7 separate regions of the Homo sapiens genome follow, and regions 1, 3, 4, 5, 6 and 7 are each linked to region 2. Evidence: promoter capture Hi-C in 16 types of primary human blood cells and fetal thymus (Javierre and others, 2016). All regions are on one chromosome and are shown on one strand. The core of a region is centred on a gene start or on the middle of the fragment in contact, and the rest is flanking DNA. Distances in the headings are between cores, read along the strand shown.

The links. Contacts are between HindIII fragments. The CHiCAGO score rates a contact against its expected background, and 5 or more counts as called.
Region 1: a contact is called between a fragment that was not itself captured here and the fragment with the promoter of IFFO1 in region 2, in 16 of 17 cell types (activated CD4 T cells, total CD8 T cells, naive CD4 T cells and 13 more). The highest score is 14.1, in activated CD4 T cells.
Region 3: a fragment that was not itself captured here is called in contact with the fragment with the promoter of IFFO1 in region 2 in 5 of 17 cell types (activated CD4 T cells, non-activated CD4 T cells, total CD4 T cells and 2 more); the score reaches 8.4 in activated CD4 T cells.
Region 4: a fragment that was not itself captured here is called in contact with the fragment with the promoter of IFFO1 in region 2 in 6 of 17 cell types (non-activated CD4 T cells, activated CD4 T cells, naive CD8 T cells and 3 more); the score reaches 7.5 in non-activated CD4 T cells.
Region 5: a fragment that was not itself captured here is called in contact with the fragment with the promoter of IFFO1 in region 2 in 14 of 17 cell types (activated CD4 T cells, total CD4 T cells, naive CD8 T cells and 11 more); the score reaches 25.2 in activated CD4 T cells.
Region 6: a fragment that was not itself captured here is called in contact with the fragment with the promoter of IFFO1 in region 2 in 11 of 17 cell types (non-activated CD4 T cells, naive CD8 T cells, activated CD4 T cells and 8 more); the score reaches 13.6 in non-activated CD4 T cells.
Region 7: a fragment that was not itself captured here is called in contact with the fragment with the promoter of IFFO1 in region 2 in 9 of 17 cell types (erythroblasts, total CD4 T cells, monocytes and 6 more); the score reaches 8.0 in erythroblasts.

The regions. Positions count from the first base shown.
Region 1 is chr12:6,414,029-6,416,728 of GRCh38, forward strand. No RefSeq gene overlaps it. Among named protein-coding and RNA genes, the nearest start is that of CD27, 30 kb to the right of the region's middle. The HindIII fragment of the contact is 2,514 bases long and covers 54-2,567 here.
Region 2 is chr12:6,554,715-6,557,414 of GRCh38, forward strand. It overlaps IFFO1 (intermediate filament family orphan 1), which reads right to left and starts at 1,328. Exons shown (of 10, transcript NM_001193457.2): 1 at 543-1,328. The coding sequence starts at 1,315. It overlaps NOP2 (NOP2 nucleolar protein), which reads right to left. Exons shown (of 16, transcript NM_001258308.2): 16 at 2,157-2,700. The coding sequence ends at 2,279. RefSeq lists an enhancer at 1-305 and silencers at 766-945, 1,056-1,295, 1,346-1,505. The HindIII fragment of the contact is 7,963 bases long and covers 1-2,700 here.
Region 3 is chr12:6,382,211-6,384,910 of GRCh38, forward strand. It overlaps LTBR (lymphotoxin beta receptor), which reads left to right and starts at 1,952. Exons shown (of 10, transcript NM_002342.3): 1 at 1,952-2,244; 2 at 2,378-2,474. The coding sequence starts at 2,149. RefSeq lists an enhancer at 1,005-1,870. The HindIII fragment of the contact is 3,962 bases long and covers 1-2,700 here.
Region 4 is chr12:6,735,287-6,737,986 of GRCh38, forward strand. No RefSeq gene overlaps it. Among named protein-coding and RNA genes, the nearest start is that of COPS7A, 13 kb to the left of the region's middle. The HindIII fragment of the contact is 5,757 bases long and covers 1-2,700 here.
Region 5 is chr12:6,795,063-6,797,762 of GRCh38, forward strand. All of the region lies in intron 1 of CD4 (CD4 molecule), which reads left to right. Among named protein-coding and RNA genes, the nearest start is that of CD4, 6.9 kb to the left of the region's middle. The HindIII fragment of the contact is 231 bases long and covers 1,311-1,541 here.
Region 6 is chr12:6,312,697-6,315,396 of GRCh38, forward strand. PLEKHG6 (pleckstrin homology and RhoGEF domain containing G6) reads left to right here. Exons shown (of 16, transcript NM_001384598.1): 3 at 933-1,088; 4 at 2,309-2,473. Among named protein-coding and RNA genes, the nearest start is that of PLEKHG6, 3.4 kb to the left of the region's middle. RefSeq lists an enhancer at 142-451. The HindIII fragment of the contact is 4,394 bases long and covers 1-2,700 here.
Region 7 is chr12:6,716,121-6,718,820 of GRCh38, forward strand. No RefSeq gene overlaps it. Among named protein-coding and RNA genes, the nearest start is that of COPS7A, 6.6 kb to the right of the region's middle. The HindIII fragment of the contact is 9,962 bases long and covers 1-2,700 here.

The DNA of each region.
Region 1 (2,700 bases), core at 61-2,560, 140 kb before region 2:
CTGTCTTGATTTTTTTCTTGGTTAGTCTCACTAGAGGCTTACCAATTTTATTAAGCTTTTCAAAGAACCAGTTGTTGGTTTTGTTGATTTTCTCTACTCATTTCCTGTTCTCAATTTTATTGCTTTCTGTTCTAATCGTTATATTTCTTCTCTTCTGCTTGCTTTGGATTTAGTTTACTCTTTTTTTTCTAGTTTCTAAGGTAGTTGATTGTATAATAAATCTTTCTTCTTTCCTACTATAATGCATGCAATGCTATAAATTTCCCTCTAAGCACTACTTTCGCTGTATCCCACAAATTTTGATAAGTTGTGTTTTCATTTTCATTAGTTCAAAATATTTTAAAATTTCTCTTGCGATTTCTTCTTTGACCCACGGGTTGTTTGAATCACATTGTTTAATTTCTAAGTATTTTGAGATTTTTCAGCTATCTTTCTGTTATTGATTTCTACTTTAATTCATTGTAGTTTGAGAGCAGGCATTGCATAATTTCTACTCTTTTAAATTTGTTAAGGTGTGCTTTATGGTCCACAGTGTGGTCTATCTTGGTGAATGTTCCATGTGACTGTAAGAAGAATGCATTGCTGAGTGAAGCAGTCTACAGATGTTCATTATATCCAGTTATTTATGGTGTTGCTGATTTCAACTACATCCTTAATGATTTTCTGCCTGCTGGATCTGTCCATTTCTGGAAGAAGGATGTTGAAGTCTCCATCTCTAATAGTGGATTCATCATTTCTCCTTGCAATTGTAACAATTTTTGCCTCATGTATTTTTGATGCTCTGTTATTAGGTGCAACACAGCAAGGATTATGTCTTCTTGCAGAATTGACCCCCTTATCATTATGTAATGCCCCTCTTTCTGCCTGATAATTTTGCTTACTCTGAAGTTTGCTCCATCTGAAACTAATGCCCCTCTTTCTGCCTGATAATTTTGCTTACTCTGAAATTTGCTCCATCTGAAATTAATATAGCTACGCCCACTGTTGTTTTTTTTTCCTTTTTTTTTTTTTTCAAGATGGAGTCTTGCTCTGTCTCCCAGAGCTGGAGTGCAATGGCGCAATCTCAGCTCACTGCAACCTCTGCCTCCCGGATTCAAGTAATTCTCCTGCCTCAGCCTCCCAAGAAGCTGGGATTACAGGCACACGCCACCAGCCCTGGCTAATTTTTGTATTTTTAGCAGAGATGGGGTTTCACCATGTTGGGCAGGCTGGTCTCGAACTCCTGACCTCATGATCCACCCGCCTCAGCCTCCCAAAGTGTTGGGATTACAGATGTGAGCCACTGCACCCAGCCCCACTATGTTTTAATTAATGCTAACTATATCTTTCTCCATCCACTCACTTTTGGTCTGTATGTGCCTTTATATTTAAAATGGGTTTATTGTAGACAACATATAGTTGGGGCTTTTTAAAAATTCATTCTGACAGTCTCTGTCTTTTAATTGATGCATTCAGACCCCACTGACATTCGAGGTGATTATTGACATAGTTGGATTCATACCTATCATATTTGTTACTGTTTTCTCATTGTTGCTCTTGTTTGTTCCTACTTTTATCTTCCGCTCTTTTTCTGGCTTTTGTAATTTTAAGTGAGCATTTGTATTATTCCATTTTCTCTCCTTGCTCTTAGCATATCAGCTATACTTGTTTTTTTTCCATTTCTTTTATTTTAGTGATTGCTCTGGAGTTTACAATATACAGTTAAAACTAATCCAAGTCTGCTTTCAAATAACACCATACTACTTCACATGTAGTGCAAGTACCTTATAATAACAAAATAATCCTAATTACTTCCCCCATCCTTTGTATTACTACCATCATTCATTTTACTTATGTGTAACATATATATATATGACCAAATACACGATGCTATTATTATTTTGAACAAACTATTGCCTGTTAGATCAATTAAGATCAAGAAAGGCCGGGTGCAGTGGCTCACTCCTGTAATCCCAGCACTTTGGGAGGTCGAGGCGAGTGAATCATTTGAGGTCAGGAGTTAAAGACCAGCCTGGCCAACATGGTGAAACCCTGTCTCTACTAAAAATTAAAAAAAAAAAAAAAATTGGCCAGGCATGGTGGTTCACACCTGTAATCATAGCACTTTGGGAGGCCAAGGCAGGCAGACTGCCTGAGCTCAGGCATTCAAGACCAGCCTGGGCAACATGGCGAAACCCCGTCTTTACTAAAAATACAAAAAATTAGCTGGGTGTGGTGGTGCACACCTGTAATTCCAGCTACTTGGGAGGCTGAGAGGGGAGAATCACTTGAACCTGGGAGGCAGAGGTTGTGCTGAGCCAAGATCGTGCCACTGCACTCCAGCCTGGACAGCACAGAGAGACTCTGTCTCAAAAACATAAAAAATAAAAATAAAAATAAAATTAGAGAGTCCAGAAAATTAAAACGAGAGAGTCCAGAAAATTCTCACAGCACTAAAGTCTTATAGGGAAATCAGTTCTTTCCTTCATCCTTCTAAGAGATTCACTCATAGGTTCACTAAGCACCTGCTGGCATCAGGTGCCATGCTAGGGACAGGAATGTCTGCGACATGATTCCTACCTTCAAGAAGCTTGTAGACTATTGAAACAAACAAACATTGATACAATGTGTAACAGCATATGAAGCACAAGTTCTATCACTTTTAATCCTCATTACAACTCGCCATTTCCTCCACTTTTCAGATGTGGAAACTCTTTGACC
Region 2 (2,700 bases), core at 78-2,577:
CAATGGCTTGAGGTCCCGGAGCTTTTCCTATGAAACCACAGCAGGTACCTGGTTTCCATCAATATTCTTTGGGAAACCTTGGGGTGTGAAAGAATCACTCGTTGCAAGGTACAGCCCCTCCCTCACCAGCCCCTTCCAGTTTCACTCAATTTAGTCTCCCAAATTTACGCTATATCCTTGCCTCCTACTTTTGAAGTTTATATCCCTAACCTGCCCCAGGGCTGAGACCGGTAGGGCAGAGCCCCAGTCCCTTTCACACCGCACAAAACCCGCAGTTAAGCCTGGATGGCAGAGACAAGCCGGAAAAGTAGGAATCCCCCCGTGTTCCGCTCCCAGCGTCCTTCTTCCTGTCACGAGCAGGGCTTCTGCATTCTCTGCGGATTCTAGTCTCCCTGCATCCAATTGCTTCCAAGCTCCTCATTACACAGCACAAACTTTACTCTCATTCTTTTCACCCCTGATTCTTCGGAACCCACACCAACTCGCGGCCCGTTGTGAGTGGTATGACACAGAGAGACCTGTCCCCCTTTCCCAATCCCTACCTCCGCTTGTACTCGTCCCGCTCCCGCTTCACTTTGGCCAGCACGTTGTAGAGAGCGCGGATCTCGGGCGTGATGGTGTCGATCTGGACGCCCACCCCATCCGGGTGCACCCACGACAAGCCAGGCCCTTGCACCAGAGTGGGCTCCAGTCCCGGCCCGAGCCGGCGGGCGTGCGAGAACGACCAGATGGTGCCGGGCATGAAGCGGGCCGACGAGGAATAGGTGGTGGAGGTGGAGGTGGAGGACGACGAGAGGCTGGCCGCGGAGGGCGCGAGGGGGCCGGCCGGGGAGCGCGCGGGCGAGCCCAGCACGCGCGCCGAAGGGCTGCAGACAGCGGCCGGCCGGGCGCCCAGCTGCAGCCCCAGGGGCCGGATGGGGCTGACGAAGCCGGTCTGCACTGCCTGGTCGCGACGACCCAGGCCCCGCCGGCCCTGCTTACCCTCCTCCAGCGCTTGCTGCAGTTGCTTCTCCAACAGCCGGTTCCGGCGCTCCAGCTCATGCACCTTGGCCAGGAAGCAGCGGAACCGGAGGTTCAGGGTCTTGAGCACGTTGATGTTGGAGCCCAGGTCATTGCGGAGGGCCATGGCGGCAGGCGGGGCCGGGCCCGGCCCGGGCGGCGAGTAGGCAGCAGGGCCGGCCGGCGAGAGAGGCGCCGGGGGCAAGTCTCCTCCCCCGGCGAAGTGGTCGCCTCCCAGTGAGTCCCCCAGTGGCCCGGCCAGGCCCTGCTGCTCCTGCTGCAGGAGGAAGAGGTTGGGGCCGAATAACGGATTCATGGCTGCGCCTTCTGCTGGGAGATGCAGACCGGTGCAGGAGCAGGGATGGAAGGCGAGCCAGAAGAGCCAATGCGGCGCCGGCGGGACAGAGCCGACCAATCAGGCGGCTCGGCAGCGGGGCAGAGGTCAGGGGGCGGGCCGAGGGGAAGCCAATGACAGGCTCCAATTGGAGGCCGGACCCTGGACCTTTCCGGGTCTGAGGCCGAGCCCTGTGATGAGGGGAGCCACCGCCTGGACTCCAGCCGGGGTGGCGTAAAGCCCAGGACCTCCAGTACCCCATGGGTTCTGGTGGCAAGCCCATCTCCCCTACACGACTTTTTTTTTTTTTGAGACCGAGTCTCACTGTCGCCCGGGCTGGAGTGCAGTGGCGCGATCTTGGCTCACTGCAACCTCAGCCTCCCAGGTTCAAGCGATTCTCCTGCTTCAGTCTCCCGAGTAGCTGGGATTACAGGCACCCGCCACCACACCCGGCTGATTTTTTGTATTTTTAGTAGAGACGAGGTTTCGCCATGTTAGCCAGGCTGGTCTCGAACACCTGACCTCAGGTGATCCACCCGCCTTGGCCTCCCAGAAAGTGCTGGGATTACAGGCATGAGCTAGTGTGCCCCGCCTTCCCCTACACTTCTATTGCCCTCCTCTCCCCGGAGTTCAATCACCCCTAGCTCTGACTCCAGGGCTTTCCCTTCCTGGGAAAACCCAAGGATGCAGGAGCCTAAAACTGACCTTATTTCTCAGTAGCACCCAACCATTCCCTCTCCTCAGAAGATCCCAGTCCCACCTCCCATCTTTACCCTTAAAGCGGCAAAGGCAGCACCCAGTTCCCTCAAAAATACTCAGTGGCCAGAGGTTTTAAAATGTGTATTAAATTTCATGGGTATGCACAGTAGAGAAGGCATCCTCACAGAGGCAAGAGTTCCAACCTGGTGACAATGGCAGTGAGCCACCCGTCTAGTTTTCAACCATCTAAGATAGCAGCAGCTGGCTGTTGCCCCTGGACTGAGATTTCTTCCTCTTTGCTGGTGGGGGGCGGCTGGAACGGATGGGAGACACAGTGGGAGGCTGAGGCCCCTTGGGGGTATCATTCTGTTTCTGGAAGGCAGCTTTCTCAAAAGGCTGCTCTGGCAACTGCTGCTTCTCAACCCCCTTGGCCCTTCCAAGGGGCTGATGATGGTCCTTAGGTTTCAGGGTGGCCTGAGTCTTGGATGGGGATAACACAGCCGGTGTTTGTGTGTCTGTGCCCTTGGGAGGGGCATTCTGCCTGAGGAAAGCAACTTTCTTGGAGGACTGTAATTTAGGTGATCGTTGCTTTAGCTTCCCAGTCACCTTTGGCTCCCTGATCCCTTCGGCTTTTCCAGCTGGCTGACTGCTATCCTGGAAGCTGGAGG
Region 3 (2,700 bases), core at 159-2,658, 170 kb before region 2:
CTGAAATATTTTCAAATGAAATGATATGATGTCTGGGATTTACTTCAAAATAATAATGAGGGATTTGAAGAGTGTGTGCGTTGGTGGGGGAGGGGGTATACAGAATAAATGAAACTGACAGTGAGTTGAAGCTGGGTAAGGAGTATATGGGAGACTCCCAATATTACTTTTTCTCTTTTGGTATATTATCTTGCATGTGGAATTTCCACAGTAAAAAGTAAAAAGAAGAGAGAGAAAAAAGGACCTAGGGTCGCTACACACACATTCCTTTACGCGTTTAAGAGCTCAGCAGGGACTCTCATCCCAGCCCCCAGCGCTAGGGCCCTGGAAGGCTCAGCAGCCCCGCGCAGTGCATGCTGTTCTGATACTTCTGCCCTTTCCAGCCATCTTTGGCCCATCTGTACGGTGAGCTGCCTGCACCAGGTGAGGGGAGAGAGCCTCACAGAGTGAAATGCCTACAGCCTAGGCAGGTCCTTTCCCCCTTTTGTGACCTCTCCTCCCCATGCACACTTCCCATCACCTGCACCTGTCCAGACATCAGACCTGAAGTTAGACAGACCAGTGTAAGGACGAGTGCTGAACAGAGTCCTTCAGGGAGGGGGATAGTGCCCAAGTGACCTATCTCAAGAGAGGTTAGCCCCTCATCCCAAGGGAGACATCCCTGAGCCACAAGGAGTTGGCAGGACTGCTGGAATGAGTTGGGACCTAGACATCAGGAGACCCAGATTGTAGCTGGCTCTGCGGTGGACTGGCTCTGTGATGTGGCCATCACTCATTTATTCCATAAATACCTATTGGGCACATGGTATGTGCCAGACTCTGCTAAGCATGGGGAACACAGACTTGAAGATTCAGCCTGGGCCATGGTGGCACTCACAGCCTGGTGGGAAGCAAACAAGACAGCCAGGTACAGAGGGCAGTCTTCACGGGGACTGTGCAACCTAGGGCAGAGGTTGCCTTCCAGAGCCTCAGTGAAGCCTCAAGGACAGGTGGGAGTTAGGAAGACGGAAACTTGGGGACCAGAGAACCACGTGTAAAAGGGGGCAGCTGCAAGTAACTCCACGGGTGGGTGGGGTGTTGGGTTGAGGGAGATGGGAGGATGAAACAGGGCAGGAACGAGACCAGGCCACCCTGGAATCCCGGTTCCCTTATGTATCACCCTTAGCCTCCCTCTCCATGCTTAAGGTGAGGGGGCTGGACTGCGTGGGCTCTCAGCTTTCTCCAGTTCTAAGGGGTTTGAAGGTTCATGGGCAAAGAAGCCAGAGCAGAGGGACTGAGTGCCCAGGTCCAGCCTGCTGGCCCCAGGACTCCCCTCCGCATATCCTCCCCCTCTCTTTGGGAGGGAGGTTCCCTGAGGACAGGGAGCAGGGCAAGCTGCACAGCTCTCAAGGGTCTCCTAGGTGACCTGTGCCCACTCCTGTGCGGATTGGGCTGGGTTGGTAGCGTGGGGGGCTGGCTGATTTGCTAGTCCCTTGTAATTTGTCTGAAAAACTCCCACAGTAGGGCAGGACAACGGGGGAGGAACCCGGGCATCTGCCAGCCGGTTCTCCTCGGTCTCAGAGCTGCTTCTGCGGCCTTGCAGTCCCCGCGCCCTGCCCTCTCCATGACTGCCCGTCCTGGGCCCCTCGCTTTCCAGATCCCGCACCCAGCTGTCCCTTGCGCTCTCTGGAACTCCCTCTGCTCTCCCTGCGAGGCTTGTCCAAGGGCTGACCCCGGGCCCGCCGCCCTTCCCTCGGCTGGGCCAGGGCTGTCCGCAGTCCGCTCTCCCGATCGGGCTTCCGAAGAAGGGAGGAGGCCGGTTCCGGCCCCGCGGCCCTCACGTGCTTTCCCGGCCGCCCCTCCCGCCCCGCATCGAGGCAGACAAGCCTGTTCCTCTTCCCTGGGCTGCGATTGCGACAGGCCGGCCTGGCTCCCAGCGCTCCCTGTCCCCGCCCCGCGGCCAGCTCGCTCCACTCCCACTTCCTGAGCTCCGCCATGGGAGCCCTGGAGGCCCGGCCTGGCCGCTCCCGGCCCTGGGGTGCACATCGGCCCTGAGTCCCGTCCCAGGCTCTGGGCTCGGGCAGCCGCCGCCACCGCTGCCCAGGACGTCGGGCCTCCTGCCTTCCTCCCAGGCCCCCACGTTGCTGGCCGCCTGGCCGAGTGGCCGCCATGCTCCTGCCTTGGGCCACCTCTGCCCCCGGCCTGGCCTGGGGGCCTCTGGTGCTGGGCCTCTTCGGGCTCCTGGCAGCATCGCAGCCCCAGGCGGTGAGGAAGGGGCCTGGTAGGAGTGGGCGAGGGTGGGCAAGAGGGATCTGGGCAGCCGTCGCTCCATTCCCTCTGCCCTCCCAAGCTGACCCCTGACTAATTCTTCTCTCCTCTTCTCCATCTCCCTTTGAAGGTGCCTCCATATGCGTCGGAGAACCAGACCTGCAGGGACCAGGAAAAGGAATACTATGAGCCCCAGCACCGCATCTGCTGCTCCCGCTGCCCGCCAGGTGAGAGGCAATGGCAGGACGAACCTGGGCCTCGGAAGTGGGTCACGGGGGCTCCAGCCCCCTCGCGGCCTCAGAGGGAAGGTGGGCACTGTCCCCCAGGAAAACTGGCTGCTGGAGACGAGCGTGGGAAACCCTGGACATCACGTGGAGGAGATGGGACTGGCCCTCCCCACTGGGCCTCCTCTTTCCTTACCTCACTGAGAGGGAGCCGGAGGGCCACTGGCAG
Region 4 (2,700 bases), core at 124-2,623, 180 kb after region 2:
GAAGTATTGGGTGACACGAAAGCATTTAACTGGGATCTACATCTTGCTTGGGGTCAGAAAAGCCTCCAAGGACATGACCTTTAAACTGAAACTAGAAGCCCAAGTAGGAATTAGCCTGATGAAAGAGAGGGCGAGCATCTTGGATGGGAAGAATAGTGGGATAAAGGCCTGCAGGCAGAAAGGCTTCATTCTGTGACCCGCTGCCTGTCCCTCAATAGGAAATGCATAATTTGGGGAATGGGGCAAGATAGACAATCCTATACTTACTGTTCATTTATCAGTCAATTGGCAAATACATCTTGTTTTTTGTTTTATTTTGCTTTTGAGACCATGTCTTGCTCTGTCACCCAGGCTGGAGTACAGTGGCACGATCATATGGGAATGGAGAGGGAAGCCCCAGGGGCCCAAAAAATGTCAGAGAGACACGGGAGGAAAATCAAGAGAACAATCCCGTAAAAGTTTATGAACTCCTGGGCTAAGCTCTGAGCTGTGCAAGCGTAGATCTGTCCCTGAACAGCCTACCTAAGGCTTTGTGAACTGAATTACAGAATGGATCACTGTCCAGGTCTGACTGGCCACTGGGTGGCACCCGAGCCGGCCTGATCCAAATAGCACTGCAAACACTTTTAAAATAAAACCGACATTGAAACCACAGTGCCAAAAAGGCAGGTCAAAACTTGCTGCCTGAACCTGATTACCTGCTAAAACAAATTACCATTCAACATGTTCAACATGCTCCTTAAGATTTTAACAAGACCCAGAGCCTCAAACCATAATATTCAAAATATCCAGAGTATGATTTAAGGTGACTCAGCATACAAATAACTCTCCAGGGAAAAGACAGCCAACCCCAAGGAGGCAGAAGTGTTGGAATTTAAAGCAAATGCTGCAAGCAGTCTAACCATGCAGGAAGAAGAAAGGGAGAATGCTTTTGAAACAAATGTAAAGAAAGTCTTAGCAAAGAAATGGAAGATATAAAGAACCAAACAGAAAATAGCAATAACTAGGCCGGATGTGGTGGCTCACGCCTGTAATTCCAGCACTTTGGGAAGCTGAGCTGGACCATTCACCTGAGGTCAGGAGTTCGAGACTAGCCTGGCCAACATGGTGAAACCCCACCTTTACTAAAAATACAAAAATTAGCCAGGCGTGGTGGCAGGCACCTGTAATCTCAGCTACTTGGGAGGCTGAGGCAGGAGAATCGCTTCAACCTGGGAGGTGGAGGTTACAGTGAGCTGAGATTGTGCCATTGCACTCCCCCAGCCTGGGTGACAACAGCGAGACTCTGTCTCAAAAACAAAAACAAAAACAAAAACTTCCCAAACCTGGCAAAAGACAAAGACAGATTCAAAAAGTTTGGTGGATAGCAAACAAGATATACTCAAATCCATGTCCATAGCCAGCGTGGTGGCACATGCCTGTAGTCCGAGCTACTTGGAAGACTGAGGCAGGAGAATCACTTGAACCTGGGAGGTGGAAGTTGCAGTGAACCGAGATCAAGCCAACTGCACTCCAGCCTGAGTGATAGAGCTAGACTCTGTCTCAAAAAAAAAAAAAAAAATCCATATCTGGACACATCAGAATAAAATTGCCGAAGGTTAAAGACAAAGAAAAAAGTCCCACAAGCATTCAGAAAAACAGTGCTTTTCACACAGGATAAAAATGACTCAAATGACTGCACATTTTTCGTCAGAAACTATGAAAGTCAGGTGGAACTAGAATGATACTTTTAAGGGGCTTAAGGGAATTAACTCAAAATCCTATATCCAGTGAAAATATTGCTCAGGAATGAATGTGAAATAAAGATATTCTCAGGTGAAGGAAAATAAGAATTTGTCACCGGAAAACCCGCTGTAAAATCCTAAAGGAAGTTCTTTAGGCAGAAGAGAAATGACACCAAAGGAAACACGGAACATTAAGGATGAAGAGCAGCAGCAATGGTAAATATAATAGATTATTTTTCTCCTCTTAAGTTCTTTAAAATGTTTATGACAGCTGAAAGAAAATCATAAATTTGATGTTTGTCTCAAGAGGGAATTCTCTAAATATAATTTTAAAACAATTATAAATTCACCTAGAGCCATGCACCGCGGCTCACGCCTGTAATCCCAGCACTTTGGGAGGCTAAGGCGGGCGGAACACTTGAGGTCAGGAGTTGGAGACCAGCCTGGCCAACATGGTGAAACCCTGTCTCTACTAAAAACACAAAAATTAGCCGGGCGTGGTGGTGCATGCCTGTAATCCCAGCTACTTGGGAGGCTGAGGCAGGAGAACTGTTTGAACCTGGAGGTAGAGGTTGCAGTGAGCTGAGATCGCGCCATTGCACTCCAGCCTGGGCAAGAAGAGTGAAACTCCGTCTCAAGAAATAAATAAATTCACCTAGAAGGCTAGGTGTGGTGACTCACACCTATAATCTCAGCACTTTGGGAGGCTGAGATGGGCAGATCTCTTCAGCCTAGGAGTTCTAGACTAGCCTAGGCAACATGGTGAAACTTCGCCGCTATAAAAAATACAAAAAAAATTAGTGGGGCATGGTGGCCTGTGCCTGTAGTCCCAGCTACTTGGGAGGCTAAGGCAGGAGAATTGCTTGAGCCTGGGAGGTAGAGGTTGCAGTGAGCCAAGATTGTGCCATTGCATTCTAGTCTGGGCAACAGGAGTGAAACCCTGTCTCAAAAATTAAAAATCAATAGATAAATTCAC
Region 5 (2,700 bases), core at 176-2,675, 240 kb after region 2:
GGTGTGAGCCACTGTGTCTGTCCCTAAATGTCTGTCTCTATCTATCTATCTATCTATCTATCTATCTATCTATCTAATCTATCTTTCTGTCTAACCTAATCTATTTTATCTATCTTATTCATCATCTATCTAATCTGTCTGTATGTTTATCTAATCTATTTACCTAATCTATCAATCTATCATCTAATCTATCTAATCTGTCTATCTAATCTATTTTATCTATCTATCTATCTGTCCATCCATCTATCTACCTACCTGTCTATCTCAAGCACCTACCACGTATTAAGCCCTGGCTACCTCCTCTTCCAGGCAGATGGAGTAACTGGAGGCAGCTAACAAAGATGGAGTCACTTTTCTTATCTTCTCCTAAACCACCGTAAGAGGACCAAGCCCCCACACCTTCTGAGTGCCCCATTCCTCTCCACAGATTGTGTCTTAGTGCCCAGCAGGAAACACAGTCCACCTCCCATGGTTCAAGAGATTGTAGAAAGGGGGTTATTCACATAGGTTAAGGGAATCAATCAATTTGAAGCACAGACACTATTAACAGCAGGAAGAGTCCTGAAGAAGTGAAAATGGTGTTTCTGGAACCCAGAGAGTGCTTGCACTCTGGATAAGGGGCCACCCCACAGAAGCTGTGGAGGGGCAGGGCTGCAGGTGAGGATGAACACACAGCTATTGACAGAAAATATGCCCAGGGCAGGGATAGAGTAGGAAAAATATCCCAGCTTCTTTCCCCCACCCTTCCATCTCATCTCTGAAAGGCACTTCCCACTGGCCAGCCCCGACTGGTGCTGGAGGGCAAGAGAGCCTATGAGCCATGTGTGGCTGTCAGCCCCTTGGTGGAGAGCCACAGACAGGATGGAGAGTGGCTGGCAGGGCCCCGTGGGGATGAACAGCTTGGATTGGGGCGACTGGGCTTCATCCAGGCTGGGCTGGATGTGTGCATACATTTCAGTGACCCGTTTTAGAAACAGAATTAATATGGTGAATAGAGAAAGAAGAAATCAGTGACTTTCGCTCCTCCATACAATTCAATTTGGCTTAAGTTAGCCAAAGCCATACCAAGTCCTCTCTCTATGTCTCAGCTGCTGCCAGGCTTGTGGTGGCCACACAGCTGGCTAGACTGTCATCTCTGTCCTCAAGGGGCTCAAGCTAGAGGAGGAGAGTTGAGAAACCAAATCACTATACACAAAGTAGAAGGTGGAACACACCCAGGAGCATGTCAACGGGGTGCTGTGGGACTTCAGAGTAGGCAGATCGTCACCAAGCTTCAACGGCAAAGATGCCACTGGGGGAAAGAAGGACCAAGCTTGGAAGACAGAGTAAGTCTGGAGGCAAGATCTTGTCTCACCAGCAGGGGCCAGGTCCATGGTGACACCTTCCCCAGGCAGTCACCTCTCTGAGCCCACTTTATATCCTAGGCCTGGATTCAAAGACACTTGAGCCCTGCTCCAGCCTTCCTTTGAGGTGCTATCTTGGTGCCTTTCCTATAATCACTGCTCCAGTCCCATGTCATCTGGTCCCCAGTTACCACATCAAGCTTCCCGAAGCTCCACACAGACCATGCCACATCTTTACCAAAAAATCAGCAGTGGGTCCCCTCACCTCCAGGACAAAGCTCCAGCTCTTCGACCTGCCTGTCAATATTTGCAATCACTGCCTGCACAAATTAGCTGGGTGTTGTCATGAAAGGATCACTTGAGCCCAGGAGTTCCAGGCTGCAATGACCTATGATTGAACCACTGCACTCTGGCCTGGGTGACAGAGTGGATCTAAACTAAAAATAAAAAGATTTACAGTCAAGCCTCAAAGGCTTTTCCCATACCTTCTTCCACCATCACCTCCCTGAGCCCTCTCTTTCCTCCGAAGCCTCCTCGCACATCCCTACCACCTTTGCACACCTCAGAATGGGGACACCTCTCCCCTTTCCTCTCCATCTAACTTATGGTTTTCAAACTTGAGCGTGATCAGTTACCTGGAGATTTGTGAAAACCCAGATGACTAGACCCACCCCCAGTTTCTGATTCAGCAGGTCTGGGGTGGGGCCGAGGATCTGCATTTCTAACAAGTTCCCAGGTCATGTTGCCGCTGCTACTGATCCAGGACTTTGGGAATCGCTCCTCTAATCTACAGCTGTCCATTCCCCATGGTCCATTCAGAGCCTCTCTGCCCTGCCCCCACCACCCCCAGTCTCGCCTGTCTGCCAAGCGCACAGGAAACTCTCCTTCATCCAAACCCTGGACCAACGCCTTCTGCTTGGCCCACTCAGAGGCCTTGTAGGGTTGGTCTGATATTGGACAGAGAAATGGCCCTCTGCTCTTTCTCCCCTGACCTCTCTGAAGGGGGCCTGCCCCTCCACACCTGTGGGTATTTCTCGCAAGGTGGAGACAAGAGACTGAGAAAAGAAATAAGACACAGAGAAAGTATAGAGGAATAAAAGTGGGCCCAGGGGACCGGCGCTCAGCAAGTGAGGACCTGCACCGGTGCTGGTCTCTGAGTTCCCTCAGTATTTATTGATCACTATCTTTACTATCTCCGCGAGGGGAATGTGGTGGGGCTATAGGGTGAAGGTGAGGAGAGGGTCAGCAGAAAAACATATGAGCAAAGACTCTGTGTCATAAATAAGTTTAAGGAAAGGTGCTGTGCCTGGATGTGCTAGATTTATGTTTAACTTTACACAAACATCTCAGTGTAGTA
Region 6 (2,700 bases), core at 26-2,525, 240 kb before region 2:
CAGGAGTTTGAGGCCTTCCTGAGATCTGCCTCTCCCTGAGTCAGGATGAAGATGAGCAAAGGTTCAGGGTGTCCCTACTCCTCCAGTGGTGGGTAGGGACAGGAGGGTGCCTGCCTTGGCTCCACCCCTGGCTCCACCTGCCTGGCTCTCCTCCAGTCCTAACCAAGCAGAGGGGTGTGGAAGCCAGGTCTGTCCCTCAGCCTGCAGGTTTCCCCTCCACCTTGAGGACAGTTCTGCTTGTGGCTGGGACATCCCCTGCCTCAATGCACGATAATTTTGCCTTTGGAGATGGGACTTTCCTAGGCTGTGGGTGAGAAGGGAGACTAGAAAGTATGTGGGGTAATTCAGGCCACAGGCAAATGAAGGAATGTGACCAGGCCTGCCCTGGGAGGAGCTGTGTGGCTGTGGCTTCAGCCTTTCACACAGAAGGGCAGCCACTCCCAGCTGGATGGGATGCAGGCTGCACGCCCCTGGGGAGAAGGCTGCACATGTGAGTGCCCTCGTCCCCATGTGTGAGGGAGGCTGGTCATAGACAAGGAGAGTTACGAGAGACCAGAATGCTGTGTGCACCACGCCTTGTCCATGCACCCCCCATGGTACGGAGAGCAGGAGGCAGTGGGGGCACACACACCAGAGCCCAGGCATGTGTGTGCTGTGCACCTGCTCGGCAGGAGGCCCCACTTCTTCCCCAGGCCCACTCAGGGAGCCAGGCTGTCTTGCCTCTGCCCACTCAGCTTAGCCTTGCCGGCAGTGGCCGCTGTGACTCAGGGCAGGAGCAGTCCACACCAAACTGGTTTGCAGGGAGAAGTGAGCCAGCCCGACTTACCAGGGTGGGGGAACAACATCTAGAGCCAAGCCTGCCCCCCTACTACCTCTCTGGGGTTTCTGGGGAAAGGGAGGCACCCCCAGAACTTCCCCTGCTCCTCTCCCAGGATCCCAGTCGCCGACGCCTCCAGCAGTATGTCCCCTTTGCCAGGGGTTCTGGCCAGGCCCGAGGCCTGTCACCCATGAGACTGCGAGATCCAGAGCCCGAGAAGAGGCACGGGGGCCATGTGGGGGCTGGCCTGCTTCACTCCCCCAAACTCAAGGTAAGGGGGTCCCTCTCCTCCCATCCCCACACATACGGCCCCAATTGTGATGGCTCCGCAGATGACCAGCAAGCTCCGGGAGCTGAGAACACAGGTCCAGGAGGCTGCTGCCTGCCAGTCAGACATGGCTCTGCCTAGGACCTCTCAGGGATATATCTCTCTTTGGTCCATGCATGGCAACCAGGGACTTTGACTTGAGACACTTTGATTAAATGTGGATAAACGATTGATATTGAGCTTTCAGTTTTTGAAAACTACCAAGTCAAATTACCAAGTTGCTGAGAGTCAGGTATGCTCTCTCTATCCTCAGTGCCACATCATCCTTCACTGCCACTGTGAGCCTCACCTCTCCTCCCAAGCCACATCCAGATGGAGTGAGTGAGGGTCAGGAGTGTCTATTGCTCACATTCTTGGTACCAAAGAAACCTGTAAAATGGGCCGGGCGTGGTGGCTCACACCTGTAATCCCAGCACTTTGGGAGGCCAAGACGGGCGGATCACCTGAGGTCAGGAGTTCGAAACCAGCCTGGCCAACATGGTGAAACCCCGTCTCTGCTAAAAATGTAAAAAAAAATTAGCTGGGTGTCATGGCGGGCACCTGTAGTCCCAGCTATTAAGGAGGCTGAAGCAGGAGAATCGCTTGAACCCGGTAGGTGGAGGTTGCAGTGAGCCGAGATTGCGCCACTGCACTCCAGCCTGGGTGACAAGAGCAAAACTCTGTCTCAAAAGGAAAAAAAAAAGAAACCTGTAAAATGTAAGCCATGCTGCTTCATAAAAAATGCCATTTTATAGGCAAATGTCAAAGTGGTGCCTGAGACCACTGGTTCTCTAAGTCTTGTTCTGATTCACTTGAAGGTCCCTCTGAAGTGTCTGTTTCTGTCCCTCCCCCACCTCATTCTGATTCAGGAGACCCATGGAAGGCCTCTTTCCTGTCAGGGAGCCTAGATCAGACCCCTCTCCAGGGACCTTTCCACAGACCAGGGTGCCTCTTCACCCACATTCCAGCAATGCCTTTTTCCCTGGAATTCCAGCTGGGGCCGACCCCTGTTCTCTAGGCCTCCATGTCCCCACTCATACTCAGTGCTGCTTGCCATCTCCCATTCCAGACACAGACACACGCACACACTTTAACACACATGCACACACACACAGCCCTCCCGGGGCCCTGTGGCTGGGTGCCAAGGATGTGACCAGAGCTGATGCCCTTCTCGGCTCCCCCAGGAACTCACCAAGGCCCATGAGCTGGAGGTGAGGCTGCACACTTTCAGCATGTTTGGGATGCCCCGGCTGCCCCCTGAGGACCGGCGGCACTGGGAGATAGGAGAGGGTGGCGACAGTGGCCTGACCATCGAGAAGTCCTGGAGGGAGCTGGTGCCTGGGCACAAGGTGAGCCTGAAACTCACAAGGTGAGTCTGTCCCCACGGCGTGAATGCACACACAGATTCTGCTCTAGAGGAGGGAAAGGCCTTGGGAAGTGGGGTCATGTGGAAAAAACATCTGGAAACGCGTTGATCTGGGTTCAGATCCCAGCTCTGCCACTTACTAGTCAGACCTTGGTCAAGACAGTAAAGTTCTCTGGGCCTCAGTTGCCACATATGTAAAGTGGGGATAAT
Region 7 (2,700 bases), core at 71-2,570, 160 kb after region 2:
GCACTCGGAGGAGCCGGCCAGCCCTGCCAGCCCCGGGCAATGGGGGACTTAGCACCCGGGCCAGTGGCTGCGGAGGGTGTACTGAGTCCCCCAGCAGTGCTAGCCCACCGGCGCTGCGCTCGATTTCTCGCCGGGCCTTAGCTGCCTTCCCGCGGGGCAGGGCTCGGGACCTGCAGCCCGCCATGCCTGAGCCTCCCACCCCCTCCATGGGCTCCTGTGCAGCCCGAGCCTCCCCGACGAGCGCCGCCCCCTGTCCACGGCGCCCAGTCCCATCGACCACCCAAGGGCTGAGGAATGCGAGCGCACAGCGCGGGACTGGCAGGCAGCTCCACCTGCAGTCTCGGTGCGGGATCCACTAGGTGAAGCCAGCTGGGCTCCTGAGTCTGGTGGGGACGTGGAGAGTCTTTATATCTAGCTCAGGGATTGTAAATACACCAATCAGCACCCTGTGTTTAGCTCAAGGTTTGTGAATGCACCAATCGACACTCTGTATCTAGCTGCTCTGGTGAGGACGTGAAGAACTTTTATGTCTAGCTCAGGGATTGTAAATACACCAATCGGCACTCTATCTAGCTCAAGGTTTGTAAACACACCAATCAGCACCCTGTGTTTAACTCAAGGTTTGTGAATGCACCAATCAACACTCTGTATCTAGCTGCTCTGGTGGGGCCTTGGAGAACCTGTGTGTGGAAACTCTGTATCTAACTAATCTGATGGGGACGTGGAGAACCTTTGTATCTAGCTCAGGGATTGTAAACGCACCAATCAGCGCCCTGACAAAACAGGCCACTCGGCTCTACCAATCAGCAGGATGTGGGTGGGGCCAGATAAGAGAATAAAAGCAGGCTGCCCCAGCCAGCATTAGTAACCTGCTCTAGTCTCCTTACACGGTGGGGAATCTTTGTTTTTTTACTTTTTGCGATAAATCTTGCTATTGCTCACTTTTTGAGTCCATGGTGCTTTTATGAGCTGGAATACTCTCCGGGAAGATCTGCAGCTTCGTTCCTGAGCCAGCGAGACCATGAACCCACCAGAAGGAAAAAACTCCAAAGGCATCTGAACATCAGAAGGGACAGACTCCAGAGACACCACCTTAAGAGCTATAACACTCACCACGAGGGTCTGCTACTTTACTCTTGAAGTCAGTGAGACCAAGAACCCACCAATTCTGGACACACCACCACACCTGGCTAATTTTTTTTTTTTTCTTTGAGACGGAGTTTTGCTCTTGTTGCCTAGGCTGGATTGCAATGGTGTGATCTCAGTTCACTGCAGCCTTGTCTTTCTGGGTTCAAGGAATTCTTCCTCAGTCTCCCAAGTAGCTGGATTACAGGTGTGTGCCACCATGCCAGGCTAAGTTTTTGTATTTTTAGTAGAGACAGGGTTTTGCCATGTTGGCCAGCCTGGTCTGGAACCCCTGACCTCAGGTGATCCACCCGTCTTGGCCTCCCAAAGTGTTGGGATTATAGGTGTGAGCCACCACGCCCAGCCATTTTTACGTTTTTAGTGGAGATAGGGGGGTTTCATAATATTGGTTAGGCTGGTCTCAAACTCTTGACCTCGTGATCAGGAGTGATCATGCACCACCATGCCTGGCTAATTTTATATTTTTAGTAGAGATGGAGTTTCAACATGCTGGTCAGGCTGGTCTCGAACTCCTGATGGGTGATCCCCCTGCCTTGGCCTCCCAAAGTGCTGGGATTACAAGTGTGAGCCACTGTGCTGGGCAATTTTCCTTTCATTCTTTTTCTTTCCTTTTTTTTTTTTTTTTTTTTTTTTTTTGAGACAGGGTCTTGCTGTGTTGCCCAGGCTGATCTTGAATTGCTAGCTTGAGTGGTCCTCCCACCTCAGCCTCCTGATTAGATGGGACTAAAATTTCCCTTTACATTATTGCCCTTTGCTGATTTTGTTATCAAGGTGATTCTGGCCCCATAGAATAAGTTAAGGGGTGCTCTCTCTTCCTATTTTCTGCAATAGTGTGTATAAAATTAATATGATCTGTACTTTGAAAGTTTGGTGCTACTTGCCTTGATGATGTCATTTTTTTAAAATAAAAAATGTTTTGGCAGGCCTCAGTGGTTCACGCCTCTAATCCCAGCACTTTGGAAGGCAGAGGCAGGTGGATCACCTGTCAGGAGTTCCAGACCAGCCTGACCAACATGTTGAAACCCTGTCTCTACTAAAAATACAAAATTAGCCAGGCATGGTGGTACATGCCTGTAATCCCAGCTAGGGAGGCTGAGGCAGGAGACTCACTTGAACCTGGGAGGCAGAGGTTGCAGTGAGCCGAGATCGTGCCCTTTTACTCCAGCCTGGCCAATAAGGGTGAAACTCCATCTCAAAAAAAAAAAAAAAAATTTCTGGCCAGGCATGGTGGCTCACACCTATAATCCCAGCACTTTGGGAGGCCGAGGTGGGTGGATCACCTGAGGTCAGGAGTTTGAGACTAGCCTGACCAACACAGCAAAACCCCGTCTCTACTAAAAATACAAAAATTAGCTGGGGGTGATGGTGGGTGCCTGTAATCCCAGCTACTGGGGGGGCTGAGGCAGGAGGATTGCTTCAACCTGGGAGGCGGAGGTTGCAGTGAGCCGAGATCGTGCCACTGCACTCCAGCCCGGGCAACAGAGTGAGACTCCGTCTCAAAAAAAAAAAAAAAAAAAAATTTCCAGCCAGGCTTGGTGGCTCACGCCTGTAATC